3 separate regions of the Homo sapiens genome follow, and regions 2 and 3 are each linked to region 1. Evidence: promoter capture Hi-C in 16 types of primary human blood cells and fetal thymus (Javierre and others, 2016). All regions are on one chromosome and are shown on one strand. The core of a region is centred on a gene start or on the middle of the fragment in contact, and the rest is flanking DNA. Distances in the headings are between cores, read along the strand shown.

Region 1 (5,147 bases), core at 1,143-3,642:
CTAACAAATGGTAACCTGGAGGCCTGACTCAATCTTCTCATTCTGAAACTGGTGCCAGACTTTAGAACCAAAGTTGCAGTGAACCGTGTCTGTATATGCATGTGGGTTTAAAAGAAATTTTCTATATTGACTTTTCTCTAAAAATATAAACAAATATGCTCTAGTTTGTGGGGAAACTAAACTATATAGTCAGGCCAATCTTATATGGGAATATTTAAGGTATTTATAAACTATCAAGATTGTTCACATGTGACAGAACGCCTGTCACATTCTGTTTCAGCAAGATTCCAAGAACATCGTAAGTGGGGACATCTTTATACGTGTCGGTGCCCTTCCCCTAAATCGAAGCAGAGCTCCATAAAAGGTATTCATGATTCACTTCAGACCTCGAAGAATACAGCCTCCCGTCTGTGCCAACCCATGAAAGCCAGTTCCCAAAGGCCAAATGTCTCACAGGGACCTTTTAATGCATTTTATGTCTTATTTATTGTGCTTATCTGACAACTTCACAAGGCTAATAGACATCTCTAAAAATGTGTTGACATCTTAGTGCATTCTGAATGTCCTTCAGTGTATTATCAAATTTGGACAGTGCAAATATTCCCCTGGGGGTAATAAAAAATAGACACAGCAATACAAATGTGCATTTCAGCCCATATGTTGTATATATTATATACAAATATTATACCCCCAGTACAGCATTATAAAGTGCAGTGCTATAAATAGAATACCAATTTCAGCTACCACCCACCCATTTGGTTAGTTGCAAAACATCCAGGCAACAAGCCAACTGATGCAGCCAGGAGTCACCCAGTCGCTTTCCCAAACCTCCAACCTCCCTTTCTCCCAGGGCTGCCACCCAGCAATGCCCTTCTTCCACTGAAGCCGATTCCAGCCAAATTCAGTCGCTCCCCAAGACCAACTACAGCCTTCTCTGCCGGAGGTGCCCTAATATTTTTAATTACACTGCTGCCTAATTAATCATGCATGTAAACAATTACCAACTAATCTTGCTCTTTTCCCACACTTACTGAGCGCCTATAGAAATGCCAGAAGTACACAAATGCAGCAAATTAATCCTTATTCAGAGAGCTTAAATACAAATAAAAACAGGCTGTCAAGGTTCCGGTGGGCTAACAAGAGCAGTGCGCAATAACGCTACGTCTTTTCCTAAACTGCACCATTCTGCCATTACTAAAAAATCTGAAATCATTGCCTTTTCACACCAGCAAGTCTGGGTTAGAGGACAAAAACTCTGTAGCAGTCTGAAAAAAAAATAATTTTTCGCTCAAGCTTTCAAAGTTGAACAAATCTGATCATGAAAGTCAATTACAAGGCTGCTTTTTTTTTTTTTTTAACTTTTATCACATCGTTTTAAGATAAAGGGGGGAAATGCCCTTGCGAGGAGAAAAGAAATAAAAAAGAATGGGCATTACAGCAGCAGGAGACCGGGCAAGCACTGCTCTGCTCGCAGACGTGTCCCCTGATGTCCCCAGCGGAGACCCGAGACAGGAGCAAGCCTCCCCGCCGCGCCAGCTCCCGCGGAGGCCCAGCGGGCGCCCCTGTCCTCCTCCGGGTCGGAATCCGGGAAGGGCTGGCGCCGAGCTGGCCGCTTATCCTCAGGGGCCAGGGCACGTCCCGAAGGCCCTGCGGAGGGGCGCGCGGACACCGGGACCGCAGTCCTCGCCCCCGGGGGTCGAACAGGAGCCGCGGGGCCTCGAGGGCCGCCTCGCCGGCTCCCGTCCAGCCTCCCGCCCGGCGCGGGGCGCGCAGGACGGCGGAGCGCGGGCGGAAGGCAGGGGGGCGGGACCGCCGCCGCCGCCACTCGCGCTGTTGCAAAGTTTCTTCGGTGGCACAGTTCCTGCGCGCTTCCTGTGGGGGCGGCTGCTGCGCCCTCGCCGCCCCGTCGCCCGCCGGTTCGGGGCGGCAGAGGCTGGGAGACGCGAGTCTGGGGCCGGGGCGGCAGCGGGGACCCAAGACCGAAAGGGGCCGAGCGGGCACGCCTCGGGTCCCGGGCCCGGGTCCCACCTGGGCGCCGCGAGAGGGCGCTGCTGACGGCGCGGCGCGGCGGGGACCGGACGGCGGGACGCGCGCGCCGGCGGGGCAGGGCTGGGCCGCCCTGCGCCTCCCTCCCCGCGCCGACCGGGGCACGGGCGACTGTGCCCGCGAACCCCACGCCTCGCCCTTGCGCGCCTGGCCGCCCGCTACTTACCCAGGGAGCAGGTGAGGAGCGCGAGCAGCGCCGGCGGCGCGAGCAGCCACCAGCAGGCGGGCGGCCGCATCCTGGCGGCGGAGGCTGAGCGCCCTACCTGGGCGCGGGGAAGGGAGACGCGCGGGGAGCGGAGCTGCGCCGCTGCCGCCGCCGCCCTGCCGCCGCGGCTGACCCTTCTCTGCCGGCTCCCCTCCTCCCTCCGTCTCCGCCGCGCCATCGCCGGCCGCGCCCTCTGGCGGCCGGGAGCGGGAGCACCCCTGTGCGCGCTTCCAGCGTCTGCCGGGCTGGCGGCTGCGGCTGGTGTCCGGCCCGACGGGCTGCTGCGGTAGAGGTGGCCGCGGCTCTGCCCTCACGGCGCCCTCCTTCGAGGCGTCTGACCTCTGCCCCCTCCAGCCACCAGCCTCCACCCCTCCTCTTCCTTTCTCCTCTGCGTCCCTCCTGACCTAGGCCGCGTCCCCTGCCTTCATGCCCTCCCACCTTACCGCGTCACCCCCATCAGTAGTTCTACCTGTGAAGTGGAAGCGAGCAGTAATCACTTTTCCTCCCTGCTAATGTATTATCTGCTGTGGAAAAAAAAATGTAATCAATAGTTCAACTCTTAATATTGTTGGCACCAATGCTCTACTTTGATGAAGGTGTTTTTAATCAGCTCAACTAATTTACTTAATATCCCCTTTAAATGGAATTTGGCCAATAGCCTAGGTCTGGGATTTGGCTTTTAAACAAGTTTGTGTAAATGTAATTTTCTATAAATGTAATTTTAAGTGTTCACCATAATGGAAGAGAGTGGGTGTAATTTTATTCAAAATATAAAAATTAATTAAACTGGAATACAGAGAAGTGGAGCAATGTGGGAGTGCCTCCTGTTCCCGCAGGACTGCGAAGGGCTTTCCTCCCCAGCCCGGTAGAGTGGTGGCCCTGATAGGGGACTGGTCCTGTTGTGTTGTGTGGTGCACTGAAGGGGAAAGCATTACAAGTAAGAACTAGAGGCTCCCTTCAGTGGTTCTGAACTCCTTCGTGCCTCCCTCAAGCCTTGGCTCACTTCTGTTTCCAAGGAAGTGCACAGGACCAAGTGCTTTTCCCAGCCCTAGTTTAGCCCATGACCTCTTGAAGGCAGTTTCTATGTTTTCCTTCATATTTACTCATTTGTTGGATACCTACTATGTGACTGCAACTCTGCTAAGCACCCTAGGAATGCCAGTATCTTTCACATGGACATACAACATTCACCTACTTGCTAAACATTTAAGGAGGAGGAGGCCCTGGGAGTACAAGTAGGATGGCCCTGGGAATACAAGTAGGATGTCCTGGAGACAGAGAAGCAGGTGCTGAATAAACATTTGTAGGCTTGAGCCCTCTTAACTTGAATGCGTTTAGGGGACTTAGGCTCTAATGCATTAGGACAGTATTGTCTGCAATTGTGCAATACCTGCTGGGATTGTTTTGAAAAGGAGGCCTGGAGACAAAGAATTTTCTCTCTGTGTGGTTTATATTGACTTCTTAAAACTGGGAACTAAATATTTCACGTGTGATCCATTTAGTGTGAGTGCAAATAGTTCCCTTTTGTTCCATTCGCCCAAGGTTTATGGTCTCTTGTCAATACCATTTTGATGGGAGGAAAAAGAAATGTAGGGATCCTTCCATTTCATTTCTTAGTGAAGCATTTCAAATCTATGGTTGACTGAATTCATTGCTTTTATCCTTGGGAAATTCTCAAGCTTACCTGCCTAGTAGTTCTAGATTGTTTCCAATTTCCAAAGCTGTTTTCGCTTTTTTCCAAGAAAATATTCCTTGCATATGTGGGGTAGTAAACATTTAACCAAACTGTTTAATTAGACACAGAAGACTAATAAGCAGGGTCAAATGCCTACTCCACGTGGGTAAGCAACTCCTGGTGCTTAATCAATGTTTTCATGGAAATTCATCATGTTAGAGTATTACTATGTTCCAGAACAAGGTGTGGAAAATTAAGCCCTAAGGACAACAGAGAACACACCGTTTAAGTAATAAACTTGCCCTGGTGTCCTTCCTTTCCACAGTAGACATAGATAAATGGCACATTACAAAGCTCCATAACTCACATTTTAAAAAGAATTGCCTTTCACTTACTCTAGTCATATGATAAATGGACTTGCTGGGAGTTCTCTCTCCCAATCACATGTCAGGAGAGTTTCCTAGAGCAACGTACTGATGAGGATACTAACAGATACATGATAGGCACTGCTTGCCTATAACATTGACTGTAAAGGAACAACTCTAAGTAGAAAAAAAATAAATCCTATAAACTTTAAGATTGTGATATGAAAACAAGCAAGCCATCTTCTTGGGATTTACTCAATCCCAGCTGTCACCTCCATGCTGGCCCCTGAAACTTTCTTTGTTGAGGGACAGGGGAAGAAGCAAGGAGCCATCTTTTGTTGGGGAAGGCACTGTCGCAACCTGGTTAAAACAGACTGGTAATTTTACAGATAATTTTCTAAATACTAAAGGAGAACATAAAGACATACTAAAACCACTGAGAGCCAAATAATCTAATGAACAAGTTCCAAACAGATGGTTTCTGATCTTACAACAGTTATCCTTGAGGCCCAAAAGGCTGAACTCCATTCATTCAAATGATAGGGAGCACCTCTAGCTGATGTGCCCTTTGCTAAGCTCTGGGGCAGATATTAAAGAGCATAAAACATGGTCCTGGGCCCAAGAACTCACGGTCCAGTTTGGGAGACAAAAATGTTCATAACTAACTTTGCTACCTTCTTATAAATGCTATGGCATGCGTAGATCAGCACACTTTGGAACACACAGGGAAAAAAAAATCTCTCAGGGCCTTTGGAATCTGTAAGAAAAGAAGCGACTGTTGCACAGGATCTTAAAGGAGAAATAGCAGGTTCCTGAGCTGAGAAAGGAGGACAGGCGCCCCAGGCTGAGGCACAGC
Region 2 (5,147 bases), core at 1,335-3,834, 600 kb before region 1:
GGAGAGGAACCTTTGGTGCTGTCCTCAGCATGGTTGGTAGATAGTACAGCTGCCATTGGAATGCAGTGACAGGAGCCATTCTGCTGTGCTCTCTGTGCAGAAAGGCTTGCCGTTGGTAAAGATGAAAAGCATTGCAGATGTCATCTTCCAAAAGCTGTCCCCTGTTTTAGGTAGTCCACTGAAAGTCCAGTGATCCAAAATGATTGCTAGGAAACTGGTTTCATTATACTGTCTCCAAGTGTTATTTTGTTCAAAACCCCAAGTTTCAGGGAAGAGGAGTCCTCTATCCACACAATGGATGTAGATAAACTTTTTTTTTTAATTTTGAAAATTGATTTCCTCTGATGTTTGTGCAGCAGCTGTTTCAACTTGTCCTTAAAAAAGTTGGTTGTGAGAGTATAGAGGATTGGATTCAAAGCACTGTTAACTGGAAGGAAAAAAATCACTATCCAGGAAGTCATTGTGTCTGGAAAAGGAAGCAAAGTGTGAAAAAAAAGTTGAAGTTTTAAATAGACATAAAATACAAATAACACTTTGCAGTCAATGCTATTTATGAGAGGGAGACATAGTACATTTTAAGTTTTCTCTCACCTGAAGGAAAATCTTTGTTGGAAGAGCACAGAAGCTATGAATTCAAGGTCTTAACGATTTAACTTTTCTGAGTTTCAGTAAATAATGTGAAGGTCATTGTGATATTAACAGGAAATATGTGAAAACATTTTGTAAACTATAAATTGCTATATAATGCATTTTTTCCTATTTTATCACCTTCCTTTATAGGAAAATAAAAAAATAAAGAAATAATCTTTAGTCAATAGAGTGAGGTTCACAAAACTTCTGGTCCCCTGGACCAAGCCAGATCTGACCTTGGTCTTAACTCCATCCAGTTCTCAAAGCTTATTGCCCTGCCCTGGTGTTCTGGTTATCCTGTTATCCTATTAAAAGCTTTGAAGAGCAAAGAGGAATGCATTCCCTAAACTTGATGAAATTCTCTTGTGTGCAGCCCTACAAATGCTAATAGAATATTCAGGGAAAGAGGTCACAAGAAGTTCTTTGTGAGGTGAAATTTGGAATGATAGTGTCCTTCCTGAGAGCATCATTTCATTTGCTTGGTTAGCACAAAATGCATCTTTCCCTTTACACGTGGCCTGATCCTGTGGCCGGACACTTAGCTAGGTTGAGTGTGAGCGAATCACTTATGCTTCCTCAACTTCATCTGCTCTCTCTGTTAAAGGGGGCTGGTGATAACTTGCTCACTGAATCCAGCGGGCTGGGCCAGAGTCAGCTCTGCTGATGTGCTTTTTTGGTACTAAGACTTGAGATCCTCAAACCTTACCACAGGACGCTACTTCCTCTCACATCTTCACAATTTCAAGGAACTCCCCATTCAGGTGAAGAGGTGGCTAGTAAGACCCATGATGCTTTCTCTCATCATCCTCTGCTCTCCTCCTTCGCAATCTCATAATTTTTTTTATCCTTCAGCCACTGTTATTTTGTTCTTCTCTTGACCCTGCCTTATTTCTTGTATCTTTCTGTTCTTCCTCTCTATGTCTTCTTCCTTTTCCATTTCTTCTCTGACTGCTTATCTGACCTTCCTTCTTCTTTTCCTTTGATCTCTTTCCTCTCCTTTTCTATATTTACCTTCCTCTCTTCCTATCCTATCTTCTCTTCCTTGTCCTTATTTTTTAACTGAAAGGAATATGAAAGAAAAAAATTATGTTTTAGCCTGTCTTAAATTAAGTTTTATATTATTTGTCCCTAATTTAAAAAAATTAGACAATCTGAACAGTTAGTGATTGAAGAAAAACAAAATAAGTGGCCTTTTTCTGTTGTGCCCACAAAGGGAATTGTGATCACGAATCCCACCCCAATCTCACAGAAAAACAATGCCTGATAGTGCCTGCTTTCAATTAGGCAAAGGCAAATAGGCCACGTAAGTTCCACTCTGAATGAAATCAGGCATGTTCAGGGTGGTATGGCCATAGACTTAAGTTCTACTCTGAATGAGACTTCTTTTTGTTTTTGTTTTGTTTTGTTTTTGAAATGGAGTCTCACTCTGTCGCCCAGGCTGGAGTGCAGTGGCACGATCTCGGCTCACTGCAAGCTCTACCTCTTATGTTCATGCCATTCTCCTGCCTCAGCCTCCTGAGTAGCTGGGACTACAGGCACCTGCCACCATGCCCGGCTAATTTTTTATATATTTTCAGTAGAGACGGGGTTTCACCGTGTTAGCCAGGATGGTCTTGATCTCCTGATCTCGTGATCTGCCCACCTCGGCCTCCCAAAGTGCTGGGATGAGACTTCTTATAAGATTAGCAGCAGCTGAGTTCTGAGATAGGCTAACTCTGGCCTATCTTTTGGGTGACCCCAGGTACTGTCAGTGGCATGCCATAACCAGTAAATGCCAGACTTCTTGGAGGGTGGGGACAGGGTTGGTTTAGGTCAGTGAAGGCAGCATTTCTTACAACGCCATGGGAAGCTGGGCAAGCGAGAAGAAGCTTTGTCAACTGTGATCATGACATTTTTCCTGGTTCCACTGAGGTGTTCAAGACAAACCTCAGACTATTGAACTATACATGTAAAGAAAGACTGGTGTGTGGCTCAATAATGTTTCCACAAGACAATGTTCTACTCTTCTAGTTCCCTTCATGGGGGTATTTACTAAGCTTATCATGATCTGAGGTGTCGTAGACTCGCTGAGGATGATGAGTTCTGCTGCCATGTGAGGACACAGCAGAGCGGACGCCTCCTGTGAGGCAATGAGAAGGGCTCAGGAGAAATCAAACCTGCTGACACTTTGATCTTGGACTTCCAGCCTCCAGAACTGGACGTCCTTTGTTATAGCAGTCCTAGTGGCCTCATACAGACAGAAAAAGCCTCAAAGAAGATTAAAACAGGCAGGAATTTGAGGGACCATCTAGAGGTAGTCTCATTGAGGTGAGGTGAGATGGTCTCCCTGAGATCACTCAACAAGTCAGTGGCAGGGGCAGGAGAGGAACCCAGGACCTCCGCCTTACTTGTTGCTGGGTCCTTCTTCCACCACACTAGGCTGCGTCCCCCTACAAGTGGGAAAGCACATCAAAAGGTGTGGAGACGGGGTCAGGCTTGGTGGTTCACGCTTGTAATCCCAGCACTTTAGGAGGCCAAAGCAGGGGGCAGATCACTTGGGGTCAGGAGTTCGAGACCAGCCTGGCCAACATGGTGAAACCCTGTCTCTACTAAAAATACAAAAATTAACGAGGTGTGGTGGTGCACTTCTGTAATCCCAGCTACTCGGGAGGCTGAGGCATGAGAATCGCTTGAACCAGGGAGGCAGAGGTTGCAGTCAGTTGGGATCACACCACTGCACTCCAGCCTGGGCAACAGAGCGAGACTCCATTTTTTTTTTTTTTGAAGAAAGTGTGGAGACAGTAGTGGGGAGGGGGTTGATGAGACTGATCCCCTATTCCATCACTCTTGGACCAGCTCACCTTCTTTAGTTGACTAATCATTTACTCAAAAGCACTATGTGAAAAACACTGTGGAAAATGCACAGAAGAATAAGACATACACGCCTCCCCAAGCTTATCATCTGAAGGACACAATGGACACACTAAGAAATAGTGTCGCTATGAGGCAGTTCACATGAGGCCAATAAACCTGGTGTAAACAAACCATCATGGATGTTTAAGCAACTGGATTGCATGAAAGTGGGGTGAGAAGAGATCGAAAATGGCACTGCACCATAGAAGAGGGAGTATTTGGGTTGAGCCTTGGAGGATGGGAAGTGGTGTTTAGTACGCTAAAATCTTAGAAGGTGAAAGTATAATCCAGGTTGGGGGGACAGCTTCAGGAAAGGCTGGTGTCTTCTCAGAAAAGCATAGAAAACAAAGCCCAATCATTCCAGTGGGCCTGGATCACAGTGTACGAGGGTGGGAGGTAAGAAATATTATAATGCTCATCCCAGCACTTGGACTTTGTTCCATGAGCAATGGAGGCCAACGGACACTTTTGTCCTGCTGAATTTGAAAGGTTAGGGTGTAAAATTGAGATGTCCAGGTAGCAGTAATAGATTGGAGGCTGTTCATCAAGTGAACAACTGTGACTATTAACATTTAATTATCTCTGTTCTTCACGTGCAACTGGGTCTCCCCACATGACCTCCCACAAAACCCTCTTATGGCTTCTTCTTTCACCACCCAGCAAAGGCTTCCAAGTATTCAGCCCTGACCTGATCTCCTTCCTAATTTTCACTTTCGTATCCTACACGGCCTGAGGAGCATCTGTGCCATGTGGAGACAGAACTGATAGCTTAAGAGGATGTTGTGAATGTTGTGTGGTATTTTGCAGCAAGATATTTGACATAGCCTCACAACTGAGTGCACAGGAGGGACATAGGTTGTTACAGCTGTTTATCGTCTGTGCATTCATCACTCTTTCATAAGGGCTATCAAAGTATCAGGCATCCTGCTTGACACTGAGGAGTCAAGATGTATAAGACACAATTACTGTCTTGGATCAACTCCCAAGTAGATCTGCTATCGGCTGGAACAGTAGGTTGACGATGATTCCAAACTATTTTACTGAGAGTTAGGTTAAAGCCCTGGGTGGTGGCCCCTAAATAGCTGTGATCTCTAGATTCCAGAAGGGGCTTCAGATGAAATTCTGCTAAGGAAAGGTGATTTTCTCTGGTTGAAGTAGAGGTGTGTTCAGGGAATTTGGCCTTTTGGAGGAGACTCTTTCAGGAAATATCTCGTGCTCCGCAGAGCCCAGCATGACATTTTATGGCTAGGACCATGGAATAGAATGGTGGTTCTAGCCAGATGAGTGTGCATCAGAATCACAGGGGAATTTTTACATAACATCCATCTATAGGTTTTAGCCTCTAGAGACAAAACAGTCCCGGGTGGAACCTGGGCATGTATATTTTGATTGTTTTATGCATACTCCTAGTGAAGAACCAATGTCTTGCTCAGATAGAAGCAAGATACTCAGACTTAGTTTCTCTGTAGCTCCTGCTTTTTATTATTCCTGGTTGGATTGCACCACTACTCAGTTTCTATTTTATAATACTGATTATAAAACATGGAGGGAAATAACTTTGTATTGGTTTTTATGAATAATTTATTATGTGTCCTAGACTCTGGCCTTGTCAAAAGAAGGACGTA
Region 3 (5,147 bases), core at 1,949-4,448, 530 kb before region 1:
GATTGCATTATTTTGCAACTCTTTACCAGCAAGGTATTGCAAAGTGAAACAGCTTAGAAAAGAGAGTGGAACAGAAAGAGAACGAGGGAGGGAAGATAAAGAAAAGGGAATTAAGTTGATTGAGTGAATTTTTTTTTTTAATTCTTGGGAGCTATGAAGCCCTATGAGCACAGCTCATTTCTTTAGATTATTTTTCAAAAGTGTACAAAATGGAACCAAAACAGAGAATTCTTCAAGTATCTAAAGAGGTGCAACGTTAAAAGCTGCGATTACCAGTAGCAAGTGTTCCAGCCTTCAGTTGCCAGCCACTTCCTCCTCCTATTCCCAAGAGTTAGCAGGATAAAAACATCTTCCCCAGGATGCCCTAAACAGTTCATTTTGGATGAAAGAATTAGTGAGCAGAAGCAAAGCCCCAACTATTCAATACACAGATGAATCTCTGAATATCCAAGTTAACTCTGCTCCTCTTTGGGCAATCCTGGGACAGTCAGGATGCATATTTTTATTTCATTTATTGATGGGTTCATTCATGAAATTTGGAGTTTACATTTAAGATGAAATATGAGGGGGTGTGGCATATGTAGAAGGCTGGAGTGAAGGGGTCTGTGGGAGGGCATGGCGTGCAAGTAGAAGTGGAGCATGTGAAGTACCTTTTAAGCCATGGGAAGAAATGTAGACTTCACGTGGTGGGAAAGGGAGAGTAGTTGCAAAGCTCGAATCAAGGAGGGGAGAATAGGTTGGCGTGACCCATGGAGAGGGTGTGCTGGAGAGGACAGACCCTGAAGGCAGGAAGACCTGTAAGATGTATTGCATTCATCTAAGAAGGCACGAACCAACAGCGTGGCAGGGGGAATGAGGAGAGGAAACAGATGTGAGATGTATTTTGGAGGAAGAATTGATGGGATGATGAGTCATGGGAGGAAGGGGGAGAGAGAGAAGTCTCCGGTGATTCTCAGGTCTCTGGATTGAGCCACTGAATAACAGACTTACGAAGAGGAGCATTTGATCAGGATGATGTTGAGTATTTCCATGTGCTGAGCCTGAGAAACTTGAGGAACATCCAGACAGCAATGTCTAGCCAGCAGGTGGAAACAGACTTCAGAATGCAGGAAAGAGGTGCAGTCTGGGAAACAAGGAGTTTCACTTGCAAAAATATTTCCTTAAAATACTTTAAGAATAAAGGGATTGAAAAGCTAAAGAGAAATGAATTAAAATTTTAAAATCATTCAGGTGTTACATAGTAGGAGATATTCATTAAAAGTCATTAAAATTGTAAGTCACTCAAGGTACTAGGGTCACATACGGTTAATATCAGATCACTATCTAATGAGCATTTATTATGTGGCTAGCATACACAGGCTTCAACTGGGTAAACCCAAGGAAAAGAAGCGGAAAAGAAAAATCACCCCTCACAGCCAGCAGTGTTATTTTTCCATTTAAGACGATTAACAACCAGTTACTTATGAAGTCATACAATAATTATATGCTGAAAATTAGCTGGATCCTTCAGTACAATACTATGGATTTCAAAATGGGTATTTAAGGCATACAGAGTTAACAAATGAATGGGGAAAATAAAACACTAAACTCTGTGAAAATGTTGAAATGGTCGTATATTTTCATGGGATCTAGAGTAGCTCATTTCAATCAAATTGATGAGGTCAAATAACTAGACTTTTTCAAGCACAGAGCCAGAGAAAGACTGAGATTCTCTATTAAATCACAGAGCCACCTCCAAGGCAGATGCATGCAAGGATAATTGCTCTAAGGCATTATGTTAGGAGCCCCCCGGGCTCTACCAAGGACCAAGGGATCTGAAAGGGATTGAGGAAGGCAGCCGAGACAGGGGCTGAGGTACTGGAGAGAGAAATGATTTCACTGGCTGGTGCCAACAGTGGCCTGAAGTTTTTATATGTATATGTGTGTGTGTGTGTGTGTGTGTATATGTGTGTATATATATATATATATAAAATGGAGCACAGCTAGCTGTCTAGAATCTGAACTTCCTTTGCTTTCCACAAGCCTCCTGAGGCTGGAGATACTTCCCTCTATTCTGTACATCTCCAAGTCTATCCATGATGTTCACTTAGCCATATTTAACATACATATTATTCATTATTATATTATAGATATAAAATATATATGTCATCTAATATGATATGACTTAGGAAGATCGGACTGGCAGGGGGACACGTCGTTACTGCTGTGTGCCTAACAACACAGTATATGAAAGGTGGATGTGCTGAGAGAAAGAACCTACGCAGTAGAGCAATCAGTGACAAACACTTATAAGGTGAACATGTACAGTGGAGAACAGTTAAGAGGAATAAACTGGGGGCCAGGTGCGGTGGCTCATGCCTGTAGTCCCAGCACTTTGGGAGGCTGAGGCCAGGAGTTCAAGGCCAGCCTGTCCAAATGGTGAAACTCCATCTCTACCTAAAAACACACACACACACACACACACACACACACACACACACACACACACACACACACACACACAAATTAGCTGGGCCTGGTGGTGCACCTGTGATCTCAGCTACTTGGGAGGCTGACACACGAGAATTGCTTGAATCCATGAGGTGGAGGTTGCAGTGAGCCAAGATTGCGCCACTGCACTCCAGCCCGGGCAACATAGCGAGACCCTGTCTAAAAAAATAAACACATAAAAATAAATTTAAAAAATAAAAATAAAAATAAACTAAAACAATGAGAGATTTCCAAATGTCATAGCCACACTTTGAAGAACACCATGAAAGTGGTCGGAGAATTCCAGACTTGTATCTATTATTTTCTTTTCTTCTTAAGGAAGATCAGAAAGTGAGAAGGCTTCTCTTCCAAGAGTATGACAATAATAGTTACAGTTTTTATTCACCTCACACCTGGCAGTGTTATTTTTCCATTTGACGTGATTAACAACCAGTTACTTAGGAAGTCATGCAACATATCAACAACCATATCAGGCAGGATCACATTCAGATATTGTTAACAGAACAGCAGCCCATGGTTCAGTAATAAATACCAGTTTTCGCAGGAATGGCTTGGTTGCTGGTTTTTGGGGAGGGCCAAAGCTTACATCATCATCGGTTTCTATGACATATATGTGAGCTTGGTGCTTAATAAATATTTACCGAGGGGGCAGTTTGGCTTTACTAAAGCAGAGTTCTTCTATCAGTTTCTTATTTTTGTGTTGTTCAATTTTACCTTGAGATATTTGCTGTTGAAGTGTTTCATAAACAAATCTCTTGAGGTAACTATATAAAGAATTGTTTGGAATTATAATTCTTATATAGCTGTTGCCAAGTTCAGTGATATATGAAGCTTTTAGTGGATATAGTGGATGCATATAGGAACCCTCCTGAAAAACTGAAACATTATATGCAATTCTGTGTTTCTTAGGAAACAGATTTTTAATCTATAAGACTTTCCTAGGACAAATGCTAGATGAGATTATGATTTGAACCGGGTCTTTGTAAAATACTAGCTTTCTATGAGAAGAGAATTTTAACTCATTCTTTTAGCACTCAATATAAACAAAAGAAACAAAATATGTGTTGTAGAAAAATGAAAATATTTAAACAAGTTATTGAGTTATAGCTTATATACAATAAAATCACTAATTTTATGTTTACATTTACATAAATTTGAGTTCCTACATTTCAGTCCATAATAAATTTTGAGTTATTTTTTGTTCATGATATGTGAAAAGAGTCAAGGTCTTGCATATGGCTGTCCAATTGCTCCAGCAACAGCTGTTAAAAAGATTATCATTTCCCTATTGAATTACCCTGAAAACTCTGCTAAAAATTAATTGAGCATACATTTGTGGGTCTATTTCTGTACTTTCTATTTTATTCTATTGAGTTCACAGTCTATCCTTTTGCTAATACCACACTGTCTTAACTACTGTAGAATTGTAATAAGTCTTCAAAACACATTCTCAACTTTGTTCTTTTTCAAAGTTGTTTATGCTATTCTAGGTGCTTTGCATTTCCACAGGATGAGCTTGTCAATTTCTACATTTGCTGGTATTGTGATTGGGGTTGTGTGGAATCTAGAACTAAATTTGGGGAGAATTTACTTCTTAACAATATAGGATCTTCTGATTCATAAACATGGTATTAGTGGCTATGTATTTAGGTCCTCTTTAATTTCTTTCAGCCATGAAAGTTTCAGCCATGAAAGTAGTTTGCAGTGTACAAATCTTGCACATATTTGGTTAAAATCATCCTTCATTCTTTTAGATATTATAGGAAATTATACTTTTTAAAATAAAATTTCATTTCAAAATCCCAAGATTTTGGGAGCCTGAGGCAGGCGGATGGCCAGGAGTTTGAGACCAGCCTCTGCAACACAGTGAGACCCTGTGTCTACAAAAAAAAATTAGCCAGGTGCGGTGGTGCATGCCTGTAGTCCTAGCTACTTGGGAGGCTGAGGTGGGAGGATCACTTGAGCCCAGGAATTCGAGGCTGTAGTAAACCATGCTCATGCCACTGCACTCCAGCGTGGGCAAGAGAGCAAGACCCTATCTTTAAAAAAATAATTTGCAATTTTTGTTTCTGGCATGTATATGAAATACAATTGTTTTTGCATATTGACTTCATATACAGAAACCTTGCTAAACCTACTTGCTAATTCTGGTAGCTTTTTTGTAAACTACTTAGAATTTTCTTCATAGATTATCATGCCATCTGTCAATAAAGACAGTTACACTGATTTCCCAATCTGTATGCCTTTTGTATGTTTTTTCTTGCCTTTTTGCACACGTTGGGACCTTCAGTACAATGTTGAATAGAAGTGATGAGAGTGGACATCCTTGACTGTTCCTGATCTTAGGGGGAAGCATGCAGTCTTTTACCACTCAGTATAATGTAAATGTTTTTTCTAGATTCCCTTGATCAGATTGAGGAGGTTTTCTTCCATTCTTAGTTTGCTAGGAGTTTTGTGTTGTTTTTTTTTTTTTTAAATCATGAATGAGTGTTGGATTTTGTCACATTGTTTTATACATCTGTTTAAATATCTTATGCTTCGTTCTTAGCATCTAAAAGTTTTTCATAGACTATCTCAGTCTTTCTCCCAAACCTGATAGTTGTTTTTGTTTTTTTAATATCACTGCTTTAAAAATGATATTGCCCTGTTTTCTTTCT

The links. The method cuts DNA at HindIII sites, captures the fragments that hold promoters and counts their contacts. A CHiCAGO score of 5 or more calls a contact.
Region 2: a contact is called between a fragment that was not itself captured here and the fragment with the promoter of B3GLCT in region 1, in 1 of 17 cell types (megakaryocytes). The highest score is 5.6, in megakaryocytes.
Region 3: a fragment that was not itself captured here is called in contact with the fragment with the promoter of B3GLCT in region 1 in 1 of 17 cell types (megakaryocytes); the score reaches 5.8 in megakaryocytes.

What each region holds. Positions count from the first base shown.
Region 1 is chr13:31,197,220-31,202,366 of GRCh38, reverse strand. B3GLCT (beta 3-glucosyltransferase) reads right to left here and starts at 2,392. Exons shown (of 15, transcript NM_194318.4): 1 at 2,213-2,392. The coding sequence starts at 2,282. RefSeq lists silencers at 1,432-1,681, 1,742-2,641, 2,692-2,751. The HindIII fragment of the contact is 2,637 bases long and covers 1,296-3,932 here.
Region 2 is chr13:31,797,465-31,802,611 of GRCh38, reverse strand. RXFP2 (relaxin family peptide receptor 2) reads right to left here. Exons shown (of 18, transcript NM_130806.5): 18 at 1-466. The coding sequence ends at 207. It overlaps LOC105370152 (a long non-coding RNA gene), which reads left to right. Exons shown (of 3, transcript XR_941833.3): 3 at 5,120-5,147. Among named protein-coding and RNA genes, the nearest start is that of RXFP2, 61 kb to the right of the region's middle. The HindIII fragment of the contact is 168 bases long and covers 2,501-2,668 here.
Region 3 is chr13:31,727,876-31,733,022 of GRCh38, reverse strand. No RefSeq gene overlaps it. Among named protein-coding and RNA genes, the nearest start is that of RXFP2, 9.1 kb to the left of the region's middle. The HindIII fragment of the contact is 250 bases long and covers 3,074-3,323 here.